Linked DNA regions of Homo sapiens: region 1 is linked to region 2. The links are contacts of gene promoters, found by promoter capture Hi-C in blood cells and fetal thymus (Javierre and others, 2016). All regions are on one chromosome and are shown on one strand. The core of a region is centred on a gene start or on the middle of the fragment in contact, and the rest is flanking DNA. Distances in the headings are between cores, read along the strand shown. Region 1 has its middle 71 kb from the start of PBDC1. Region 2 holds the start of NEXMIF (neurite extension and migration factor).

Region 1 (3,992 bases), core at 1,077-3,576, 1.3 Mb before region 2:
CACTAGAAAACAAATCACTCCCATCTTATTTTCTTCAAAACTTATGACATTTCTGCCATATAAGATGAGAGTTTCAAATTTTGATGATAGTGTGGGATGGCAGAACCCTTCAATTGGGAAAGAGCCATTCTCAGGGATTATATGCATATGTAATTATTCCATCATTCCATCAGCTTTATATTCACCTCCAAGCTTATGTATACCCTTACCTCCAAACCCTAATATAAGGGAGTTATATTAATTGGAAACTACAATCAATTCAATCCCCTTACTCATTATTGCTCTATTTGGGTTTTCTTTTTCTTCATGATTCAGTCTTGGTAGGCTGTATGTTTCTAGGAATTTACACATTTCTTCTAGATTATTCAATTTGTTGATGTAAAATTATTCACAATATTCTCTTATGATTCTTTGTATTGCTGTGGGATCCACTGTAATGTCTCCTCTTTCTTTTCTGATTTTATTTGAATCTTCTCTCATTTTTTCTTAGTCTAGCTAAATGTTTGTTGATTTTGTTTGTCTTTTCAAAAAACAAACTCTTAATTTTGTTCATCTTTTATATTTTCTCCAGCCTCTAATTTATTTCTGCTCTGTTCTTTTTTAAAATATGGAACACTTCAAAAATTTGCATGTCATGCTTGCACAGGGCTCATGCTAACGTTCTCTTTATCGTTTCTATTTTAGTATATGTGCTGCTGAAGTGAGCACTCTGCTGTATTCTTTATTTCCTTCCTTCTACTAACTTTGACAGTAGTTTTTTCTTCTGTTTCTAGTTCCTTCACATGTAATGTTAGCTGGTTTATTTAAGCTATCTTTTAATGTAGAAATTTATTGCTATAAATTCTCTTAGAACACCTTTTGCAGCCTTTTGAAAGTTTTGGTATATGGCCCTTTAAGTTTTCTTTGTCTCAGGATATATATATATACATATATATCCTGAGACAGAGTCTCGCTCTGTCACCCAGGCTGGAGTGCAGTGGCGCGATCTCTGCTCACTGCAAGCTCCGCCTCCCAGGTTCACGCCATTCTCCCGCTTCAGCCTCCCGAGTAGCTGGGACTACAGGCGCCTGCCACCACGCCCGGCTAATTTTTTGTATTTTTAGTAGAGACGGGGTTTCACCGTGTTAGCCAGGATGGTCTCGATCTCCTGACCTTGTAATCTGCCCGCCTCGGCCTTCCCAAGTGCTGGGATTACAGGCGTGAGCCACCGCACCCCGCCGATTCAAGATATTTTTAAGTTTCTCTTTTAATTTCTACCTTGATAGATCGGTTGTTCGGAAGCACGTTGCCGGGCGCGGTGGCTCGGGCCTGTAATCCCAGCACTTTGGGATGCCGAGGCGGGCGGATCACGAAGTCAGGAGATCGAGACCATCCTGGCTAACACGGTGAAACCCCATCTCTAATAAAAACACAAAAAATTAGCCGGGCATGGTGGCGGGCGCCTGTAGTCCCAGCTACTCAGGAGGCTGAGGCAGGAGAATGGCGTGAACCCCGGAGGTGGAGCTTGCAGTAGGCAGAGATCACGCCACTGCACTCCAGACTGGGCAACAGAGCAAGACTCAGTCTCAAAAAAAAAAAAAAAAAAAAAGATAAGAGAAAAAAAATTATTTTGTGGACTAATAAATAATTTAACATTTATCCTGGAGAATGTTTTATGTATATTTGAAAATAATGTGTTTTATTCTTCAACTGGATAGAATTTTCTGTATATATCTGTTAGATTCATTTGGTCTAAAGAGTAGTTCAAGCGTGCTGACTACATATTGATTTCTCTGTTTGGTTTTTCCATCCATTTTGTTTCTTTTTCTTTTTTGTTTTTTGTTTGTTTGTTTTTTGAGACAGAGTCTCGCTCTGTCACCTAGGCTGGAGTACTGTGACATGATCTTGGCTCACTGCAACCTCTGCCTCCCGGGTTCAAGCAATTCTTGTGCCTCAGCCTCCTGAGTAGCTGGGACTACAGGCATGTGCCACCATGCCCAGCTAGTTTTTGTTTTTTTTTTTTTTGTATTTTTTGGGAGAAATGGGGTTTTTACATGTTGGCCAGGCTGGTCTAGAACTCCTGACTTCAGGTGATCTGCTCACACTGGCCTCCCAAAGTGCTGCGATTACAGGTGTGAGCCACTCCACCTGGCCACTATCTGTCCATCTCTTAAAAGTGGGGTATTGAAGTCCCCTACTATTATTTTATTGCAGCCTGTTTCATCCTTTAGATCTACTGTCAGCTTTATATATTTTGGTTCTCTGATGTTGTGGGCATACATATTTACAATTGTTACATTTTCTTGATGAATTATATGAATTATGTCATTATATAATGATGTACTTTGTATCTTTTTAATCTTTTTTACTTAAAGTCTATTTTATTTGATGTGGGTATAGCTATCTTTGATCTCTTTTTGTTTCGATTTGCATGGAATCGTTTTCCATTCCTTCACTTTCAGTACATGTGTATCCTTAAAGATGAAGCAAGTTTGTTGTAGGCAGCATTCTTATTTTCTTCTTTAATCCATTCAGCCACCATGTATCTTTTGACTGAAGAACTTAATCCATTTAAACTCAAGTTAATTATTGATAATAAGGACTTACTACTACCATTTTATTAAATATTTTCTGGTTGTTTTATAAATCTTTCGCTATTTTGTTTCTGTACTCTTGTCTTCCTTTGTGATTAGATAATTTTCTGGAGTAGCGCTTTAATACCTTAATTTCTCTCTTTTTTGTACTTCTTATAGATTTTGCTTTGCAGTTACAATGAGGCAAACATAAAATAATTTATAACTATGACAGATCATTTTCAGCTAATGAGAACTGAATTTGACTAGCATACAAAACTACACTTTTACTCTCCTTTCACGTTTTCTTTTTGATGTCACAATTTCTATCTATATTGTGTATCTCTTACAAATTACTGTAGCTATTATTTTTCTAATAATTGTGTATTTTTAACCTTCACACTAAATATATAAGTGATTTACACAGACCATTGCAGTATTAGAGTATTCTGAATTTGATTATATACTTACTTTTACCCATGAGTCTTATACTTTCATGCTTTAAAGTTTCTCAGTAGTTTCTATTTCTTTCAGCCTGAAGAACTCCCTTTAGCATTTCCTCCAAGGCAGGTATAGTGGGAATGACCTAACTAGGCTTTTGTCTCAGAGATTTTTTTTTTTTTGAACAAGGTCTCACTCTGTCATCCAGGCTGGAGTGTAGTGGTGCAATCACAGCTTACTGCATCATTAACCTCCCAGGCTCAGGTGATCTTCCCACCTCAGCATCCTGAATAGCTGAGACTACAATCATGCTCCACCATGTGCAGTAAATTTTTCTGTGTTTTCCTTTTGTGAAGACAGGGTTTTGTCATGTTGCCAAGGCTGGTCTTGAATTTCTGGGCTTAAGCAATTCACCCACTTCAGCTTCCTAAAGTGCTGTGATGATAGGTATGAGCCACCATGTCTGGTCTCAGAAAGTCTTTATCTCTTCTTCACCTGTGGGGAACAGCATTTTGGGGTAAATTATTCCTGGTTGGCAGGGTTTTCTTTCAGTATCATGAATGTATCATCCAACGCTACTGACTTTTAAGGTTTCTGTGCAGAAATCAGCATATTAACATTTCTTTCTGTGTGATTTTTTAACTATTCCTCCTTTCATGATTCTCTCTCGCATTTGATTTCTGATAGTATGATTGTTAACATGATTGGTGTAGTCTTGTTTGGATTGAACATAATAGGAGATTGTTCAGTTACATCTATATATTTCCCCAGATTTGAAAATGTTTATAATGTTATTTCTTCTTTTTAATTTTTTAAGTTTTGTGGGTAAATATTGGTGTATATATTTATAGGGTACATAGGATGCTTGGATATAGGCATGAAAAAAGTAATAATCACTTCCCGCTAAATGAGATATTCATCACCTCAAATATTTATCCTCTGTGTTGCAAACAATCCAATTGTACTCCTTTAGTTATTTTTAAATGGACAATTACATAA
Region 2 (3,539 bases), core at 910-3,409:
AACTTAGTATCCTCTGCAAAGGCCCTATCTCCAAGCAGTCACATTCTGGGGTACTGGGAATAGTCAGAGCTTCAACATATGAATTTTTGGGGAAATGCAAATCAGCCCATAACACCCATGGTGTGTGTTCTCCCTCACTCTAACAAGTAGTAAACCCAAATTGTTCAACTACAGTTGTGTTTCTGGTAGTTTTTGGCTGGAGGGCATTGACAAAAATTATAACTGGTAACAAATAAGCAACTAACTTTATAAAGGAAGAATAGCATATGTAGTTAATACAGGTGAAAACAATGTGCTTTCCGACAACGGAAAAAGAGCAATTCATTCTGGATATTGAGATCCAGCCAATAGATGGGTGGCATTTTACATGTTTAACCTTTTTTGTTTGTTTGTTTTTGCTTTTGAGAACAGAGGCCAAATTTTGTCTTCTTATTTATTCCAGTGCCTGAAAGATGCAAATATATTTGCACAGTGTCTCACAAATGCAAGATAAATAACATATCATCCCTATCCTCAGGACACATATACCTAACTTCCTTGTGACTCGATTTTCTCATTTGTAAAATGGAGATAGTAAAATTGTGTTTGTTGTGAAGATTAAATAATTCATGTAAATTGCTTAGCACAGTGTCTGGCACATAGTAAGGACCCAATAAGTATAATTATTTCAGGATGAGCTATTATTTATGGATGAGTTTCATAGATATAAAATGAGAGGGAGAAATAACAAGAGTGTTTCAAGCAAGTGGGATGACAGAAACAAAGGCACAGAGATGGGGAGTTGTAAAAGCCATACAGACAGTTTATTGTCCAGGAATGAAAGACCCATGGTAGAGCGCCTCAAACTTGGTAAAGTGACCCAGACCTTATTGTCAATGGGATATCTGGAACATTTATCTCCTGTACTTTGCCAGGGAAAAGAAAATATACCCCCGCCTCTGCACTGTTTCTGGGGAGGGATTGTGTGACAGGTGATGGTGAGAAGTTGCACACATCAGATCTCAAAGCCTGAGCCCTCGTAGCAAAATGACGCTGTAGCTGTGGCAGCAAAGAAATCTGAAATGAGGCCCTGCCTGACTGGAGAAGCTGTGCTTTGGCAATGATGTTGGAGCAAGTGCACACAAAGTAGCTACTTTTACCCCTTCTGTTCTAGTACCAACCTTTTCATCTCTTGCCTTGGCTCCTAGTGGTGACAAATCTCCCGAGGCTCAGGCCTCAACCTTGCACCCAGGACTCCAGAAGTACTAAATGGTCCCTCCTGAGTTGCTCTCCAATCGTTTTGCTGTTTCCTGTTGAGTTCCCAGGACGTCTGAAGGAAAATGACCACCTAAGAGATTTTTCAATGACAGCCATCAGGCAGATCTGTTTTCCTTCCTGGCCATATTCAGCTTCCCTTCTTTCCTTTATTCCCCAAACGTCACTCCCCAATTGTCTGCCTTCATCCAACCCTTCAAAAAGGACCCACCTTCCTGGGGGCCCAGGCCCTTAAGTTAAGAGTAGGTAAAGGTTGAATGGTTAGATGCTTGGTGGATGAAACCATTCAAATATTCTTCCCCAAACTTCAGAGTGCCCCTCTCCGCACACACAACTGCCCTAAAAGGCATGGGAGAGTGGTGTCCGGTTGCGTGTCTGCCAGGGGAAGAACGCACCACTGGCGTAGTGGACTGGAAGGGCAGCAGGAACGCGAGTGGGGGGCGGGGTGGGAATGGGGAAGGGGGGTGCGCGCCCTTTATGACAGGTGGCCGCGCAGTGCGCGCTCCCGGGCGCCCGAGGGGAGGGAAGGACAGACGGACAGAGTTGGGGGGGCACATAAGGAAGGGACCATAGAGAGGGTAAGGAGAGCGGGAGGGAAAGGGAGAGCTGTGGTGGGGAAGAAGGGTAGAGGGGGGAAGGCGTCCAGCAAGAACAGCCGTGTTGGAGGAAACAATGGCAGGGGCAACAGCGATGGTGGCAGCAGAGGCGGCCCCACTCTGGGCACCTTTCTGAATGGGCAGAGACAGCTCCGGGAGAAGAGGGGACCAGGCAGTGCCTGCAGAGGCTCTGAGAAAAGCGGCAGAGGGAGGAGAAGAGGGAGGAGGAAGAGAAGGAGGAGGAGGAGTAGGAGGAGGAGGAGGAAGGGGGAGGAGGGGGGACGAGGCAGGGGAAGAACCTGGGAAGGAAAACCAGTAGCATCAGCAGCAGCAGCAGCAGCCGCCGCCGCCACCACCGCCGCCACAGCAGTAGCATTAGCGGCAGTAGCAGCATTTAGCAATAGCTTTAACAGCTATAGCGACAGTAGCAGCCGCCCTCCTCTCTCCCTCTCGCGGACGGCCGCAGCCACCGCACAGAGCGGGCTCCAGGCGCCGAGCGCGCAGCCCGCTCGCTAGGTAGCTCCAGCCGGGGCGAGCGACAGTGTAAGCGAAGCACGGACCCTTGGAGCAGCCGGGCAGCCGCGGAGGCTCTGAGTTTCAGGGCCAGAGCCCGACAGCTCTGACTCCATCTAGCGCGGCGGCGGCGGAGCCTGAGGGAGCGAGCGAGGAGAGAGGCGCGTCCACCTGGCGGGCCCAGCGTATGGAGCTGAGGCAGAGGCGGCGGCGGCGGCGGCAGCAGTAGCAGCGGCGGTGGCGGCTAAGGCAGCTCGAACAGCTGCGGCGACGGCGACAGCCCAGCCTTGACTGCGACCGCGCTAGCTACAGCGCCTGCTGCCTGAGCCCGCCAGCGACGTGCGCCTCGGGAGTCGGCCTGTGAGGTGAGTAGGAGCGCTGCCATACAGCTTCCTGGCCTTCTCGCCGGCTCCCCGGCTGGCTCGGGGTGGCGGCCGCAGGGGGTGGAATGAACTGGGGTAAGTCGAGCTAGACGAGAAGGAAGGGAAAACGGAACGGAGGACGTCTGTATGCGAATGTGTGTGTCTGTGTATGAGGGAGCGAGGCCGCTAGGGCGAGAGATCCCGGCTCGCCCTGACAGGCACTGCAATCTAGGAAAGGCCTCTGTGCTTGCGCCGTAGGAAGGGGGTTGCGGGGGGAGGGGAAGCGAGCGGACCGGAGCCGCCGCGCTTACACGCACGCAGCTCGGCAGAGTGCCGCCTCCTTTCGGACTGGTGCAGGGTAGAGCCTGGCCAGGGAATGGGGCATGGGCATGGCACGCTTCGGCGAGAGCGGGAAAACCCACGCGGCGGCCGAGGCCGGGCGCTCGGACCAAAGCCGCAAAGGTGCGAAGCCGGGCGGCCGTGGCGACCACAGAGCGCCCCCAGGACACGCGCCACTCGGCCGAGGCTGCGGACAGGTTTAAGTTGGAGGCCAGACCGAGCCTCGCCCAGCTCATCTCCTTTGCGGAAATTGGCTTGTGGCCCCTTCGCGCTCTCGGTGGCGGTCGAATTGACGCTTTTCTGTGTGGCTTCTGGCGCTTCTCTCTGCCGCGCCCCGCAGCACACGTCGGCTCGCGTCTTGTACACCCTGTAGGGCGGGAAGGCCGTGAGCCGGCGCGGGGAGCGGAGTCCCGCTCCGGGAAAGTGTGGAAACCGCGCTGCTGAGTTGGCGCCGTTCCGCTGAGGAATTCAGCGA

What was found. Contacts are between HindIII fragments. The CHiCAGO score rates a contact against its expected background, and 5 or more counts as called.
Region 1: a fragment that was not itself captured here is called in contact with the fragment with the promoter of NEXMIF in region 2 in 1 of 17 cell types (naive CD8 T cells); the score reaches 6.0 in naive CD8 T cells.

What each region holds. Positions count from the first base shown.
Region 1 is chrX:76,241,684-76,245,675 of GRCh38, reverse strand. It overlaps the pseudogene RNU6-867P. Among named protein-coding and RNA genes, the nearest start is that of PBDC1, 71 kb to the right of the region's middle. The HindIII fragment of the contact is 4,264 bases long and covers 195-3,992 here.
Region 2 is chrX:74,924,072-74,927,610 of GRCh38, reverse strand. NEXMIF (neurite extension and migration factor) reads left to right here and starts at 2,159. Exons shown (of 4, transcript NM_001008537.3): 1 at 2,159-2,728. RefSeq lists a silencer at 3,121-3,280. The HindIII fragment of the contact is 8,655 bases long and covers 1-3,539 here.